Linked DNA regions of Homo sapiens: region 2 is linked to region 1. Evidence: promoter capture Hi-C in 16 types of primary human blood cells and fetal thymus (Javierre and others, 2016). All regions are on one chromosome and are shown on one strand. Each heading gives the region's core, a stretch centred on a gene start or on the middle of the fragment in contact. The rest is flanking DNA. Distances are from core to core; before and after follow the strand shown.

Region 1 (7,654 bases), core at 2,506-5,005:
TAGGTCTTGAGTAAGGCCTGAGATTCTGCATTTCTTCTTTCTTTCTTTCTTTTTTTTTTTTTTTTTTTTGAGACATAGTATCACTCTATCACCCAGGCTGGAGTGCAGTGGCGCAATCTTGGCTCACCGCAACCTCCACCTCCCAGGTTCAAGCAATTCTCCTGCGTCAGCCTCCCGAGTAGCTGGGATTACAGACACCCATCACCACGCCCAGCTCATTTTCATATTTTTAGTAGAGACTGGGTTTCGCCATGTTGGCCAGGCTGGTCTTGAACTCCTGACCTCAAGTGATCTGCCCGCCTCAGCCTCCCAAAGTGCTGGGATTACAGGCGTAAGCCAGTGTGCCTGGCCGAGCTTCTGCATTTCTAACAAGCTCTCAGGTCATAACAATGCTTCTGATACACACTTTGATTAACAGTGTGTTAATTTGATTAGCAGAGACTAGAAGACACTGGATACCCATGTAACATTTTACACTTTATGAAGCCTTTTCATAACTATCATACCTCATTTTTAAAAATTTATTTTTATTTATTTTTATTATACTTTAAGTTCTGGAATACATGTGCAGAACGTGCACGTTTGTTACATAGGTATACATGTGCCATGGTGATTTGCTGCACCCATCAATCTGTCATCTACATTAGGCATTTCTCCTAATGCTATCCCTTCCCTTGCCCCCCACCCGCCCAACAGGCCCCTGGTGTGTGATGTTCCCCTCCCTGTGCCCATATGTTCTTATCATTTTTCAGCTCCCACTTATGAGTGAGAACATGTGGTGTTTGGTTTTCTGTTCCTATGTTAGTTTGCTGAGAATGATAGTTTCCAACTTCATCCAAGTCCCTGCAAAGGGCATGAACTCATTCTTTTTTATGGCTGCATAGTATTCCATGATGTATATGTGCCACATTTTCTTTATCCAGTCTATCATTGATGGGCATTTGGGTTGGTTCCAAGTCTTTGCTATTGTGAATAGTGCTGCAATAAACATATGTGTGCATGTGTTTTTATAGTAGAATGATTTATAATCCCTTGGGTATATACCCAGTAATGGGATTGCTGGCTCAAATGGTATTTCTGGTTCTAGATCCTTGAGGAATCACCACACTGTCTTCCACAATGGCAGAATTAATTTACACTCCCACCAACAGTGTAAAAGCATTCCTATTTCTCCACATCCTCTCCAGCATCTGTTGTTTCCTGACTTTTTAATGATTGCCATTCTAACTGGCATGAGATGGTATCTCATTGTGGTTTTGATTTGCATTTCTCTAATGACCAGTGATGATGAGCATTTTTTCATATGTTTGTTGGCTGCATAAATGTCTTCTTTTGAGAAGTGTCTGTTCATGTCCTTCACCCACTTTTTGATGGGGTTGTTTTTTTCTTGTAAATTTGTTGAAGTTCCTTGTAGATTCTGGATATTAGCCCTTTGTCAGATGAATAGATTGTAATAATTTTCTCCCATTTTGTAGGTTGCCTGTTCACTCTGATGATAGTTTCTTTTACTGTGCAGAAGCGCTTTAATTAGATCCCATTTGTCAATTTTGGCTTTTGTTGCCATTGCTTTTGGTGTTTTAATCATGAAGTCTTTGCCCATATCATACCTCGTTTTATCATCCTCACAACCTTGTGATATAACTATGACTGTCCCCATGTTACACATGAGGAAACCAAGGACAGTGGTTCTCAACCCTGGCTGAATATTAGAATCACCCAAGGAACTTTTAAAACTCCCATTGCACAGTTACCACCCAGAATAATTATGTTAGAATCTCTTGGTGTGTGGCCCAAACAGCAGTATTTTTTGGAATCACCAGGTGATTCCAATGCACTGCTAAGGGTAAGAACCATTGCACTAGAGCAGTGCTTCTCAAAGTGTGGTCCCTGAGCAAGTAACAGCAGTATCTGGGAACTTGTTCGAAATGCAGATTCTGGCCAGGCACGGTGGCTCACGCCTGTAATCCCAACACTTTGGGAGGCCCAGACAGGTGGGTCACCTGAGGCCAGGAGTTCGAGACCGGCTTGGCCAACACGGTGAAACTCCGTCCCTACTAAAAATACAAAATTAGCTGGGCGTGGTGGCTGCACACCTGTAATCCCAGCTACTCAGGAGGCTGAGGCAGGAGAATTGCTTGAACCTGGGAGGTGGAGGTTGCAGTGAGCTGAGATCACACCATTGCACTCCAGCCTGGGCGACAAGAGCGAAACTCCTTCTCAAAAAAAAAAAAAAATAAAAATAAAAATAAAAAAGAAAAGAAAGAAAGAAATGCAGATTCTCAGACTCACCAATGACCTGAAACTCTGGGAGTAGGACCCAAGAACCTGGGTTTTAAGACACCCTCCAGGTGATTCTGATACACTCTCAAGTTTGAACATGGGTTTGAAAAGGGCTAACTTGACTCCGTGGAGTCAAGAGCTGGGGAAACCCAAGCACACCTTAGGTCCAGGTATAAAATTAGGCTAGGTTCTAAGCAACTGGAATCAATCTCCTAATGGACATACCAAAGAATAAGAACTGTTTTCAGGATGGCAACTAGAATACTGAATCCCCACAACACAGTCTTTCTGATCCTTTTTTAGGAGAGACATCTGCCAAAGGCCCTCTCAGACTGTCAAAACATCCTGGAATATATTTGCGTCCAACTCTGCACCTTGCTCTCTATTCCCTCACTTCAAACACTAACCTTTCCCATTTGTGCTCTCACCTGAACTGAGTAAATAAGCTTCTAACCACTCTTCTCCCCACCCCTCTCTTCTTGGTATCCAAGATGAGAGTGGCAGGCGAAAGGGTAGTTCTAATGTACCCAAGCAAATGGATACACATCCTAAAACAGGAGTGACTTATGCAGCTGCCCCTCCAGAGTGCATCTCACCTGCTTCAGCAACACAGTTGCCCTTTGGTCTAACCTCCCCCCCTCAACCGCCCCCACGTTCCTATTCCTGGAAAATGGAAAATTCCATAGCCAAACATCAAGCAGACACTTCCCAGAATGCAGCTCATCTCCTCTTCTCCTCCCGCAGAGATACCTCAGGTCTATAGGATTAAGAAAGGCAAGCCCAGCAGCCACTACTCACTGACCAGACCTGGCCCAACATGCTGCAGAAATAATTATCAATTAGTATACTTGAGAGACAGCAGCGTGAGGTGGAGAATGGGTTCTAAACTGAATGACAGCTGTTAACAGTTTTTGGCCCTGTTTTTCCTGTCCTGAATCCTCAACTGAGATCCTAGGGATGAGAAACGGGGGAACAGCACGCCCTACTTGAGAGAATTAGAATTTGAGGCGCTAGGAAGCAAAAGGTAAGAAACAGCTTAAATGTGTGGTAGCACTCCTGAAAATATGCTGGGGCCCCTCAAAAAGCTCACCTTCCCTCACTTCCCACTTCAACTGATTATGAGCATCTTGCTTGATTAAAAGCAATTCATAATAGTAATTGAGAATTAGTAAGAAAAAGCTTAATTAAGCTGAGATTAATTATTTAAGCTGGTACTCGAGGTTTTGGAAGAAAAGTAGAAATTTAATGTCAAGGTATGGAGGAAGAAAAAAGTATGATTGGAGTCAATTATATCTTTTGACAGACAGGAGACCTGATGAATGTCCCTGTCCCTCCAGAGTCCCTGAAGCACCAGTGAAGGGAGAGGGCCTGGCGAGACAGCATGTACAGGTACTTGGGAGTTGTCTAGTAACTTGCTGGTTGGAGGGGGAGGGACTAGCTCAGGGCCCAGGGGGAGGTCTATACTGAAGTTGCTGCCTTTAGAGAGCTGGAGAGGCAGGAGGCTGAGGACTGAAAAGAGAGGGTGAGTAATTCTTCATGACCTGTAGGATCCCAAAGATGGCGACCTGCCAGCCTGGACTGCCAGCGAAGGCCAGAATCGTGCTGTAGCTCTGAACCCACAGCTCCTCTGCCCCTGGCCCATGAGAATTTCAGCTGGAGAGATAGCATGCCCTGGTAAGTGAAGTCCTGCCACTTCGAGACATGGAATCATCTTTCTCATTTGGAGTGATCCTTGCTGTCCTGGCCTCCCTCATCATTGCTACTAACACACTAGTGGCTGTGGCTGTGCTGCTGTTGATCCACAAGAATGATGGTGTCAGTCTCTGCTTCACCTTGAATCTGGCTGTGGCTGACACCTTGATTGGTGTGGCCATCTCTGGCCTACTCACAGACCAGCTCTCCAGCCCTTCTCGGCCCACACAGAAGACCCTGTGCAGCCTGCGGATGGCATTTGTCACTTCCTCCGCAGCTGCCTCTGTCCTCACGGTCATGCTGATCACCTTTGACAGGTACCTTGCCATCAAGCAGCCCTTCCGCTACTTGAAGATCATGAGTGGGTTCGTGGCCGGGGCCTGCATTGCCGGGCTGTGGTTAGTGTCTTACCTCATTGGCTTCCTCCCACTCGGAATCCCCATGTTCCAGCAGACTGCCTACAAAGGGCAGTGCAGCTTCTTTGCTGTATTTCACCCTCACTTCGTGCTGACCCTCTCCTGCGTTGGCTTCTTCCCAGCCATGCTCCTCTTTGTCTTCTTCTACTGCGACATGCTCAAGATTGCCTCCATGCACAGCCAGCAGATTCGAAAGATGGAACATGCAGGAGCCATGGCTGGAGGTTATCGATCCCCACGGACTCCCAGCGACTTCAAAGCTCTCCGTACTGTGTCTGTTCTCATTGGGAGCTTTGCTCTATCCTGGACCCCCTTCCTTATCACTGGCATTGTGCAGGTGGCCTGCCAGGAGTGTCACCTCTACCTAGTGCTGGAACGGTACCTGTGGCTGCTCGGCGTGGGCAACTCCCTGCTCAACCCACTCATCTATGCCTATTGGCAGAAGGAGGTGCGACTGCAGCTCTACCACATGGCCCTAGGAGTGAAGAAGGTGCTCACCTCATTCCTCCTCTTTCTCTCGGCCAGGAATTGTGGCCCAGAGAGGCCCAGGGAAAGTTCCTGTCACATCGTCACTATCTCCAGCTCAGAGTTTGATGGCTAAGACGGTAAGGGCAGAGAAGTTTCAAAGTGCCTTTCTCCTCCCCACTCTGGAGCCCCAACTAGATCAGCAGGAGCTAGGGGGATGAGAGCACTTGCTTCAGGCAATTGACCCCTGTCCCAGCATCCCCCACCCCCAGACTGACAGGTAACTGAGGCAGAGTCCTGACTTTCTTCTATAATCAGTTTCCCCATTTTCAAATCGCCACTCCTCCCTGTCCTTCTTTTGAAATGAGCCTGTCTCTGGTGTACAGGTACACTTACTTAAAGCAAGAAATGTACTGCTAAAAAGATGCTTATAGATCAAATTCTATTTTTGAGTATACCAGAGCAGCACTGTCCAACAGAAATATAATGTGAGCCACACGCATAATTTTACATGTTCCAGTAACCGTTTTATAAAGGTAAAAAGAAACAGGCAAAACTAATATTTTATTTATCCCAACGTAACCAATATATTGTTTTCAACATGTCATCAATATAAAAATTATACTGGTTTTTTTTTCATACTAAGTCCTTGAGATCTGGTGTGTATTTTGCCCTTACAAAACATCTCAATTTAAACTAGCCATATTTCAAATGCTCAGTAGCCACATGTGGCTAGTGGCTCCCATACTGAACAACACTAGAGAAATGAGGTTCTGTTATTTTTAAGTGTTTACTATAGTGACTTACTACAGTAATTGCTTTGGCAAGGTGAGGAGTCCCTCCTCCTCCTGCCCTTACTGATATTAATCAGAGATCTTATATGGTGAATGTGCCTAAAAGGTAGAAACCTCAATTCCTCTAAAGCTTGTCTTTTCGCACACCTCATGATGTTTAAAATAGGTTATTTCCCAAAGAAACACTATCTTGTGATTATTTCTGCTGTTACCGGTCCCAATCCACCACCTTTTAACTCTCTGCTGCCCCTTCCCTTAAGATGGCCTCATATGTCACTTGTGGCTACTTGCTGATGACAATGCTGGATCACAAATTCTGAGGCACTGGGAGGGAAGAGAGAGAAAACATGTGGGTACCAAGGCAGGCACAGCCAAGCTCTCCAGACTGGAGCCACTTTGCTCCTCAGGGCTCCTTCCACTTACTCCCAATTTTGCATTTTCCTAAGAAACTGTTGCACAGGAGACCAGCTGAGGAGCAGGTGCCTCATCCTCCTTTCCGTGGGGTACAGAAAATGACAAGGTTGGCAGATGGGAACTATGCTCAGTTTCCCTCTGGGCAACCTGGCAGCAAAAAACCAAGAACAGAATAGCGAAGACACTCAGGAACCACTCTCTGCCTTTCTGAGTTTCCCTGTAACCCTCTCCAAAACCTCCTGGTCTCCACAGTGGATTGCTAGAGAGTTTGGCTCTCAAGACCTTAAACTGTAATATTGCCCCAGAAAGCTGCCAAGTTGACAACAAAAGAGGGCAAGAAGAAACCAAAACAGTATGGATTAACTTGCCTAGGATTTGGTACTGAATTAGGTACCAAATTAGGTACCAACCTTAGGTTGGTTAATCCCTCAATATCCCTAAATTAATGACCTGAGGATGCATTTGAATCCAACGTGTAATGGCTAATTCCAAGAGGCCCTTGAAATTTTTCATTCTAATCACAAATTATAATGTTTAGACCTGGATGGAATCCAGCCACCCTCCTTTCAAAGGATGTCACCACACCACTATGCTTTGCACTCGGATTTTCTTAATTCCCCTTAGTCTTAGATTAACTCCCAGCTTACTTTCCTCAGTCATTCAGAGGATAATGATCATCCTTTTCAGTTTCCCTACTCTTGAGAAAATTTCCTTCTCCCTACCTTCACCCTATATCTTCTTCAGCCCAAATGGCTGTTTCTCATTGATCTATTCTACTACATACACATCAACCCACTTTTGGTAAATTTTTTGCAGTCGCTTTGCTTACCAGTCTGGCCCAGAGGAGAAACATGCTTGCTTTCACCATAGCAAGCATCGTGTTCCTACAACTGAAGAACTTTTTGACTCTCAAGTGGACGATGGAACCCAATATGCCTTGAAATGCTGAGCATCCAGCAAGTACCAGGCCAGCAATAAGGCACATTCTTGGATTGTATTGTGAGTTACTGGGAACTAGGTAAAATACGAATAACTGGATTTTGGACAAAATTGAAAGCAGGCTCAAACCAATGCCCTCCTTACTGGTGGTTCAAAGCTTAAATCCTGGCCTTGCTACAAAGGACTGATCTTGCCAAGATAATATAAGCAAAGTGGAATGAAAATTAAAGTTAATTCTGAAGCCAAGGTCCTTTTAGAAAAAAAAAAGTAAATTAGCCTGATTTAATCATTCCACATTTTAAACATATATCAACATCACATTGTACCCCACGTAATATATACAATTATTTGTCAATTAAAAATAAAAAATATATATATTTTTAAGTACAGAAAAGCAGGAGGGGAGGAGAGGCCAGGTGATCAGTGTGTTATTAGGTTCAATCTAAGAAACTCTGCTACCCCTGGGAGTCAGTATGTGCAATGGAAAAATCACAGGTCTTGAAATCCAACAGACCAGTGTTCAAATGATAATTCAGTCATTTAAATTCTCAAACTAGATCTCGCATTCATCAAACCGGGGTAATAATGCCTACTTTACATGGTTATATTGAAGATTAACTCAGATAATGTATATGTAAATATCTAGTAAACTAC
Region 2 (7,654 bases), core at 2,457-4,956, 500 kb before region 1:
AGAAAGAAGCTAACAAAAAAAAAATCATCTTTCCTGTCCTTTCCCTTTACTTTGAATGGCCCTTCTGAGGAACTTGGGGAATATGAATTTCAAGCTTAAATTTGTGAAGGAGTTTAGTTGCAATGCCCAAAGGGAGAACAGTCCTATTCTGAAATACAGCCTTTGTTCCTTTCTTACCAATGTGGTTTTAAAAGTCACAGGCAAGCCTCCTTTGCTGAACCTGAAATTGGACTGACACCTTCCTTAGTGGGCAGCCATGCTGCCAGTGAGGCTGTGGTGGACGGTAGCAGGGATGAGGCCTCTGGAGAATTGTATCCCACCTGACTCACTTTCTGAATGGCAGAGGAAAGTGAGATCTGGTGCTAGGGCTGTCAGTACCTTTTCAGGCTCTTGACTGTTTCCCTAAGCAGTTGGAAGGCTAGGTTTGCAGCTTTGATGGTTAGGGGGCCACTCCCAATACCTCAAAAGACAAGCACTTTTTATTATAGTAGGTGAGACTTTGGATGATTTCAGCAAGTATGTTTCTGATTAGAAAGCTCTCACTTTAGATTCATTTTCTCTTTTCTCCACCCCTCCCCTCTGTTTCCCTCCTCCTCTCTTGTCTTTTTCTCCCCTTCCCCCTTTCAGCAGCTCACTTGCTCTTAGCTACCAATTACCTGTTATGTGATTAATATTATCCTTTTCCCAATTGGCTTAACATAGATTTTGGATATATATTTTACTGGCATCTTCAGTAGTAGCAATGACGTTCAAAGGGGCAATTAGAAAAAGTTTTCTTTCTTCTTACAAGAAGTAGGATGGGCACTTGTTTGAGGGCACAGATAGCACTGGATGGGACCAAGAGGAGCTGACATCTGATATCCCTGCTCTATCCCCCACCTTTCTTTTGGCTGCTTCAGATTTGGTTCATGTGGACAAACACACTTGGGAACCACCATACAGATGGAAATCAGGACATGTGGGATTTGGCTGAACCAAAGATCCCCAAACATTGCCTGGATCATTTAGTGCCCCAGGTGTGGCCACCCCAGGACTTCATGTGCTAAAATTGTGTCCCAGCTGAAGCCAGCTGGTCACTGTATACATAGGATCAAGGCAGCTTGGAGCCTCATAAAGCATAACTTTGGATTTTTACCTTGTGGATTTAGATTTAGTTAATCACCTTGAATCCTCCCCCAACACACTGGGCAATGAGGATGTAACAGGCAAATAGAAAGCTTGAACAAAAGGAGATGCTCATTATCTAGTAGTTTGCATTCCAGATGGGACATAATGCTAGACCATATGAAGAAAAATGGACTGACTTTCCAGAAAGGAAAGAGAGAATTTAGAGGGCTCCAGTCTCTTTAATAAACTTTTGATGTATTATTTTAAAATTTTCTCAAAAACGTTCCCTGCTATAGAATTTTAAGAGCAAACAGCGATTCCGTCTAATTTAAAAATTGTAAGAATTGAGCAGTGTTTCATGAAATTATATTAGTTCTTTCTTTTTATTTGCCTTATGTGATAGAGGTGCCTCACTTCAATCATTAAGGCAAGATTTGTTTAGGGCATGGTAGTAATAATCCCATACAATTGTATAACCCTTTACAATTTACAAAAGGGTTTTCATACCTATTATCTCATTAGCTGTTCACAGCAATCCTGTGAGACAGTCAGGATAGGTACTATTATCTCCAGTTAACAAATAAAGGGAACTTAGGCTCAAAGAAGTTAAGTGACTTGGCCAGAGTCACATAGTTAGAAAGTTGTAGAACTGGAAGCTGAACCCAGGTTTCCTGATACCCAGCCCCAGTGCTCCTTCGGTTGTATCATGTTTCCTCCCAAAGACACTATCTCCTTTTTGTTCCTACTCGTGATTAATTTTAAAATCCGTCTAAAAATGAGCTTTAGTTTAGTGGATGAGTAAAACTGAAGCACTTACATGTAAAGTGCTTTCTCAAGTCACCTAATGAAGTGGGTCCTGCACATAGCTCTTGGCTTTTCACCTTCATTTTAACTGAACTATTTTTAGGTAGACATAGATTTGTTTTTCAGTGTTAAATATATGGACAAAAGTTGTGTGATCCACTGATTATAGGTGTGAAAGCTGCGCTTGGGGAATGGGACTAGGGATGAAGAATTGCCTTAAAATAATTAGCTTCTTGCCTTTGTGTTAAGAGATGTCATGTTCAATAGAATTTAATTTCTTTATACTTCCTTTGCTTCCAGCCTTTTAAAAATACAATTCTTTAGGGAAAATTAGCAAATATTCATTCTGAATGTTGATTTCTCAGGAATAAGGGTAGCCAGAGGAAAGAAAAAGCAAAGGGGTGACTTTCTGTGCCCTGTAAGAGTGGGCAAACATTATTTTGTTTGGAGCTGTGAGCTAAGATTTCTTCCAAGGCATGCAAATCGTAAAGTTCTGATTTGTCAACTGCATGCTGTTTCTTTAGGCACTGATGTATGAAATCCCGAACGAATTCTCCAATGAACATACTGCTAATTGCTTCTCCACCTGCTCTCCAACCTCCTCCACCCCACCCCCTCCACTCCCAATTCAGCCTATAAGTGTCCGTCATTGGAGATGGATGGTGACACATGCAGTAATAGCAATTCATAAAAGCCAGTTCCAGCCCTTGTCTTCAAGGCTCCTGGATTTTCCACTGCCTGCTTTTGTGTAAGTGAAGTGGATGGAAGTGCTACTGGCATCAGAATCCTCCTCCCTATGCTCCGTTGCTGAAGCTCAGTTGCTCGGCTGGAGCTGAGCTAAACAGAAGCGTCAGATCTAAGCTGAATTATAGCTATTTTTCTTTTTCCTCAATGGGGTGGGTGGGTTAGGGATAGGGTATAGTGGGGGTTTGGGGTGCTTTGGCTTTTCTTCTTGTGGAGAGAAGAGGGTAAGGAGAGAATAACTCACGATAGGATACAACGTGAAACAGTTCCCTGAAGAGTGTCACAATGTTCCTGGTACAATATACAGGTATAGTATGTTTTGTTTTATCTGAATTTCCCCTTTGTTTCAAAGTGCATTTCTTTCTTTTATTTTTCCTTCAGTTCAACTGTACTGAAGGACAAATAGGGTTCTAATGAGCTAAACAAAATAGCTGCATAAAACATGCCTGCCCCCAGCTATAATGTTTGTAGCAGATTGCTGTATAAAATCTGCGTTTTCTGTTAAACTGGTAGTCCCGATCCCTTAATTGTGCACGCTTCTCTGCTGTATTCTTGTATTGAATTTCTCAAGTCTTATGTCTGCAACTGGTAGTATGTGATATAGCTTAGAGTGTTTGCACAGAAGACAGTGCTTTGGAAGCAAAAAGCAATTTTTAAACACTTAGTGTGTTATGTTTCTCTAGAGTTTATTAACTCCTGTATTTGTTAATTGGTTGTATAGATTTGGGATATACCTAAGAGTAGGGAAACTTCAAACAGGAAGCATTCCAGGACACATCTGTTTGGTAAATTTAGTTATTTTTCATTACTGAACTCAGGTTGATGAACATTATATATTATTGTTGTTTGTTTATTCTCCTGACAGAAAAAAAAAAGTGCTGGAAACAGCAAAGCTACAAATACGAGCCCCAAACCATCTGTATTGTAAAATATCCTTGGATCAAAAGTGTTTCTTAAGTATTCTCTTAAGCTTTCAGAAACATAATGGTCCATAATAATGAAGAAGATTCTGATCAGGTATGGGCGAATGTTTTTTGAAAGGCTTCTTACACAGCAGTTAGACAGAAAGGTCCCTTGCAAATGAAAAACCCTGAGAAAGTTTCACTTTCTTGCTTCACAGAACAGAAGCTTAGTTCCTACAACCACGTTGTTTTGATAAGTTTGAATATCATTTGTTGTCAAGGACTTTCATCTCCATTGTTGCTTTATTATTCTTAAAATATTATGCTCCTACGCTTAACAGCTAAAAGATCATGTTCTATTTTGATGCGTGGTTTGACAGTTGATTTCGCTCCTCATTAATTGGACAGCATGCAGATGATGTGGAGAAGTGAGTGAGTGACAATATTTCAAGGTTACGTTGAAGAGCATACAGTGAACCTTAGTGCCTGGACCAACAGCTGCTGAATTGAATTGTCTGCAATTAAAGCAACAGCAGGTTTGTGTAGTCTCCCTGCAGCCCATTTATTTGAATTTATAGCTTCAGTTTCTTCTTTGAGTATTGGTTGGTTGGTTCTGCTAAGTGTTGGAAAGTTGTGCTTGCTGGATGTTTTCTCTGTATTCCAATGCATGCTTGACTCTAGAAGAGCCTTCTGTGTACATTTTAATGTGAGAAGTTGTTGAGGCTTTTTTCTTACGGTTAAAACCAGAGATTGTCTTATTTTCTCCACTATAAAATTAAATAGATTTACATGGAAAATATTGCTTTGTTGAATAAATAGAGATTTCTCATGGACCAGTGTTACTGGTTTAAGTTTCTGGCAATGAAAAATGCTGGACTTTGTTATGCTACTGGAATTACTATATCTGGGAAGAACTTCTCTCTGCTAATAAAAATGTTTACATTTTAAAAACGACATTATCTCCTTGCCAGCTCTCAATTCCACAGTGACCTAATGAATAATTTCAAATCTAACTAGGTGGCTTTTATGACTGTATTTTATTTGTATGCTAATAGTGAATACATGTTTAATTCCTTAATGGTTTTACTCTATTAAAAATTACAATATTAGTGTAGTTGTTGGTTACTGAATGATAGTGGATGTGGTATAAAACATTTAGACAGTGATTTAATATATACTTTCTTAGTTCATTCTCAGTAAGTGTGAGGTCAGTGATATGATCTCCATTTTATAGGTAAGAAAACTGAGACTCAGGATGAGTAACTGGCCTGAGGTCTCCATCTAAGTGCAGCCTAAACTTACAGGTTACATTATCTGATTAAAGAATCTGTGCTTTTTCCTCCCTGATATCAGGCTGCCTCTCGGTTGATGGGTGCCAGGTAAATGTGACTTATGCTACTAGAGAAGGAGGATAAATTTGGTCATTTACTGAAAAATGTATTCTTGGATAGGACGCTAGAGATGTTTTCAAAACTATTTTTAGTCTAGCATTTATTTGAATATGTGTGTGATTTCAAGATTAATTTTACAGATGTGTAAGAAACACTAGTGTTTTGATTAATGTGTACATCAATATGAATGAAAGTAGAGCTTTGTGAAATTTTGGGGAAGCAAAATGTTGTCTATTCCAAAAGGTTAGTATGGAGTATTTTCTCTTCTAAAAAGCTAGTTTGTTTGTACTGTTGTACTGGATGAACTTATAAGATTGTTTCCATGAAAGTATATGTATTTTAAGATATACTGGCTATGAATGTGAAGTGCTATATGTTTTTGAAATTTGAGTATTTTGTCCAGATCAGCAGAAAAAATATACAGCTAATTCAGGTTCACACTTTTCTTTCTTTCTGTCTGTCTCTGTCTCTGTGTCTCTCTTTCTCTCTCTCTCTCTCTCTCTCATAGATCAGCATTCTTATCTTTTAAAATTTCCAAATGGTTTCTCAATTTTAAATTAATTAGTTTTAAGGGAAAAAATGCTTTTTGTCCCACTGAAGAAAGGAATACTATTTAAAGCCACATTATCAATTCATCAAATGAACCCAACTACTTGAATGGCTCATACAAGCTCTCTGGTAAAACTTTCTTTAGGACCCCTTCAGTAAACATTCTTGAAGGGGCCATTTTTATATCTGAATTTATTAGAGACTGTCCCGTGTACTAGATTAATGACTCGATGTTCACGCCATAGACAACTCTTCTTCAGCATTTGACAATGAACATTTGAGAATGTTGATAAGAAAATGGGCCAGAGATAGAGCAAGTATTGTTATAATCTGTTTATGAGACTTTAAGATGGTAATGAATATATTATCTCAGATACCATGTAATTGGAATTTACCCTTATCTAAGATGGTATCTTTATATTTTAACATGTCTTAAAGTAAATCTGTCCTCATATTATTTCCTTCTGGCAAAAAAGAAAGGAGGATGATATGAAGCCCTTTTATCATTCTTTAGACTTAAATGAATTTGACACTTAAAAAATACAGGTGGGAACTTCGGGGAACAGATCAGGATTAGAGGAAGGAGAACTGGGCAAACTAGGCATGAAATTGGAAGTTCCATATTAAACTTGGTTTCAGGTGGCAAATGTCCTACGTAGTTGGAAGCTCTGGCTAACATCCCTCACTGTGTTCCTTTTTCTAGGAATAGGCACTCTGAATATAAATGAAAAAGAATTTATTGGGGCTTTTAAAGAAATTGACATTTTCTTATTGGCTAAAGAAAAAGTCTTTCATCTACAAAATAGTTACTTTTTCCTTGTCTTGTTTGAGGCCAAGAAAAATTCAAGAGGGAGATTTGTAGGTTCTGGTTGTTCAGGGAGCTGAAGTTGAGTCGTCTGATGGATTTTCCTCTTTGGTACACCTATGAGCGTGTTTTAGAGGAGTGAAGGGCAGGTCTCATGGACGGGAATATAAAGGTTAGTATACACCAGTCCGTGGTGTGCTGGAGCCAGCTTGCACTAGCTTATTTAAGGGGATCACCAAGAATATTAACAAATTCGAAAATTTATTCATATTTGCCTTTTTCCAAAAAGGACTTAATATGCTTATTATGAATAATACAATAATTAAGGCATGCTATTTATGTAGGATAGTATACTGCAAATGGGGCTGCTAAACTATACTGATTGACATTATTGAGCATAGTACAGTTGAGTGTGTGTCTCCCCAGCCATATATAAACACAATAATAAGAATAGCTAACATTTGGCCAGGCACAGTGGCTCACGCCTGTAATCCCAGCACTTTGGGAGGCCGAGGGGGGTGGATCACTTGAGGTCAGGAGTTCGAGTCCAGCGTGGCCAACGTGGCAAAACCCTGTCTCTACTAAAAATATAAAAATTAGCCGGGCATGGTGGTGGGTTCCTGTAATCTCAGCTACGTGGGAGCCTGCAGCAGGAGAATCGCTTGAACTCGGGAGGCAGAGGTTACAGTGAGCTGAGACCATGCCATTGCACTCCATCCTGGGCAACAAGAGCAAAACTCTATCTCAGAAAAAAACAAAACAAAACAAAACAAAAAACAAACTAACATTTATTGAAAGCTTGCTCTGTGCCAGATCATGTTATAAATACCTTATATGTATGAACTCATCAACGCTCACAGCAATGCCATAAGGTAGACAGTAGTATTTCCATTTTCAGGTTAGAAAAACAGATACAGAGTTTAAGTATCCAGCCTACCACGTCACACAATTACTAAGTAGCAAGAATCAATATTGGATGGCAAGTTTGTCTTCAGAGCCAATGCTCTTAACCACTGTGGAGTATGCTGTATGTCTTTAGGGGTTCTTTATTAAAGAAACTGTTTGCCCACCTGTGTGCTACCCGGAGCAGATATCCCATTGTTCATGACTTCAAAAGACCTAGACAGTGTAGAGCTGTCTGCTGACCAGACTATTAAAAATTTTTACTTTCTTTCCAACCCCCATCGTTGGTAGTCTTTACTGACAAAGTGAAGGGGAACATTGCATCCCCAGGAATTTCTAAACATTGCTACTACTCATGTTCTTTCTTCAGATTTTCAGCTTTGCTTTTAAGGTCTCTTTCATAATCTGTTGCTTCTCTCCATTCTCAGCTTTTTGCAACAAGAAACATT

The links. Contacts are between HindIII fragments. The CHiCAGO score rates a contact against its expected background, and 5 or more counts as called.
Region 2: a contact is called between a fragment that was not itself captured here and the fragment with the promoter of GPR119 in region 1, in 7 of 17 cell types (naive B cells, total CD8 T cells, fetal thymus and 4 more). The highest score is 8.6, in naive B cells.

The regions. Positions count from the first base shown.
Region 1 is chrX:130,381,775-130,389,428 of GRCh38, reverse strand. GPR119 (G protein-coupled receptor 119) reads left to right here and starts at 3,755. Exons shown (of 2, transcript NM_178471.3): 1 at 3,755-4,993; 2 at 6,878-7,654. The coding sequence starts at 3,982. The coding sequence ends at 4,989. The HindIII fragment of the contact is 2,318 bases long and covers 3,462-5,779 here.
Region 2 is chrX:130,882,522-130,890,175 of GRCh38, reverse strand. The region is part of intron 2 of ENOX2 (ecto-NOX disulfide-thiol exchanger 2); the gene reads left to right. Among named protein-coding and RNA genes, the nearest start is that of ENOX2, 17 kb to the left of the region's middle. The HindIII fragment of the contact is 158 bases long and covers 3,628-3,785 here.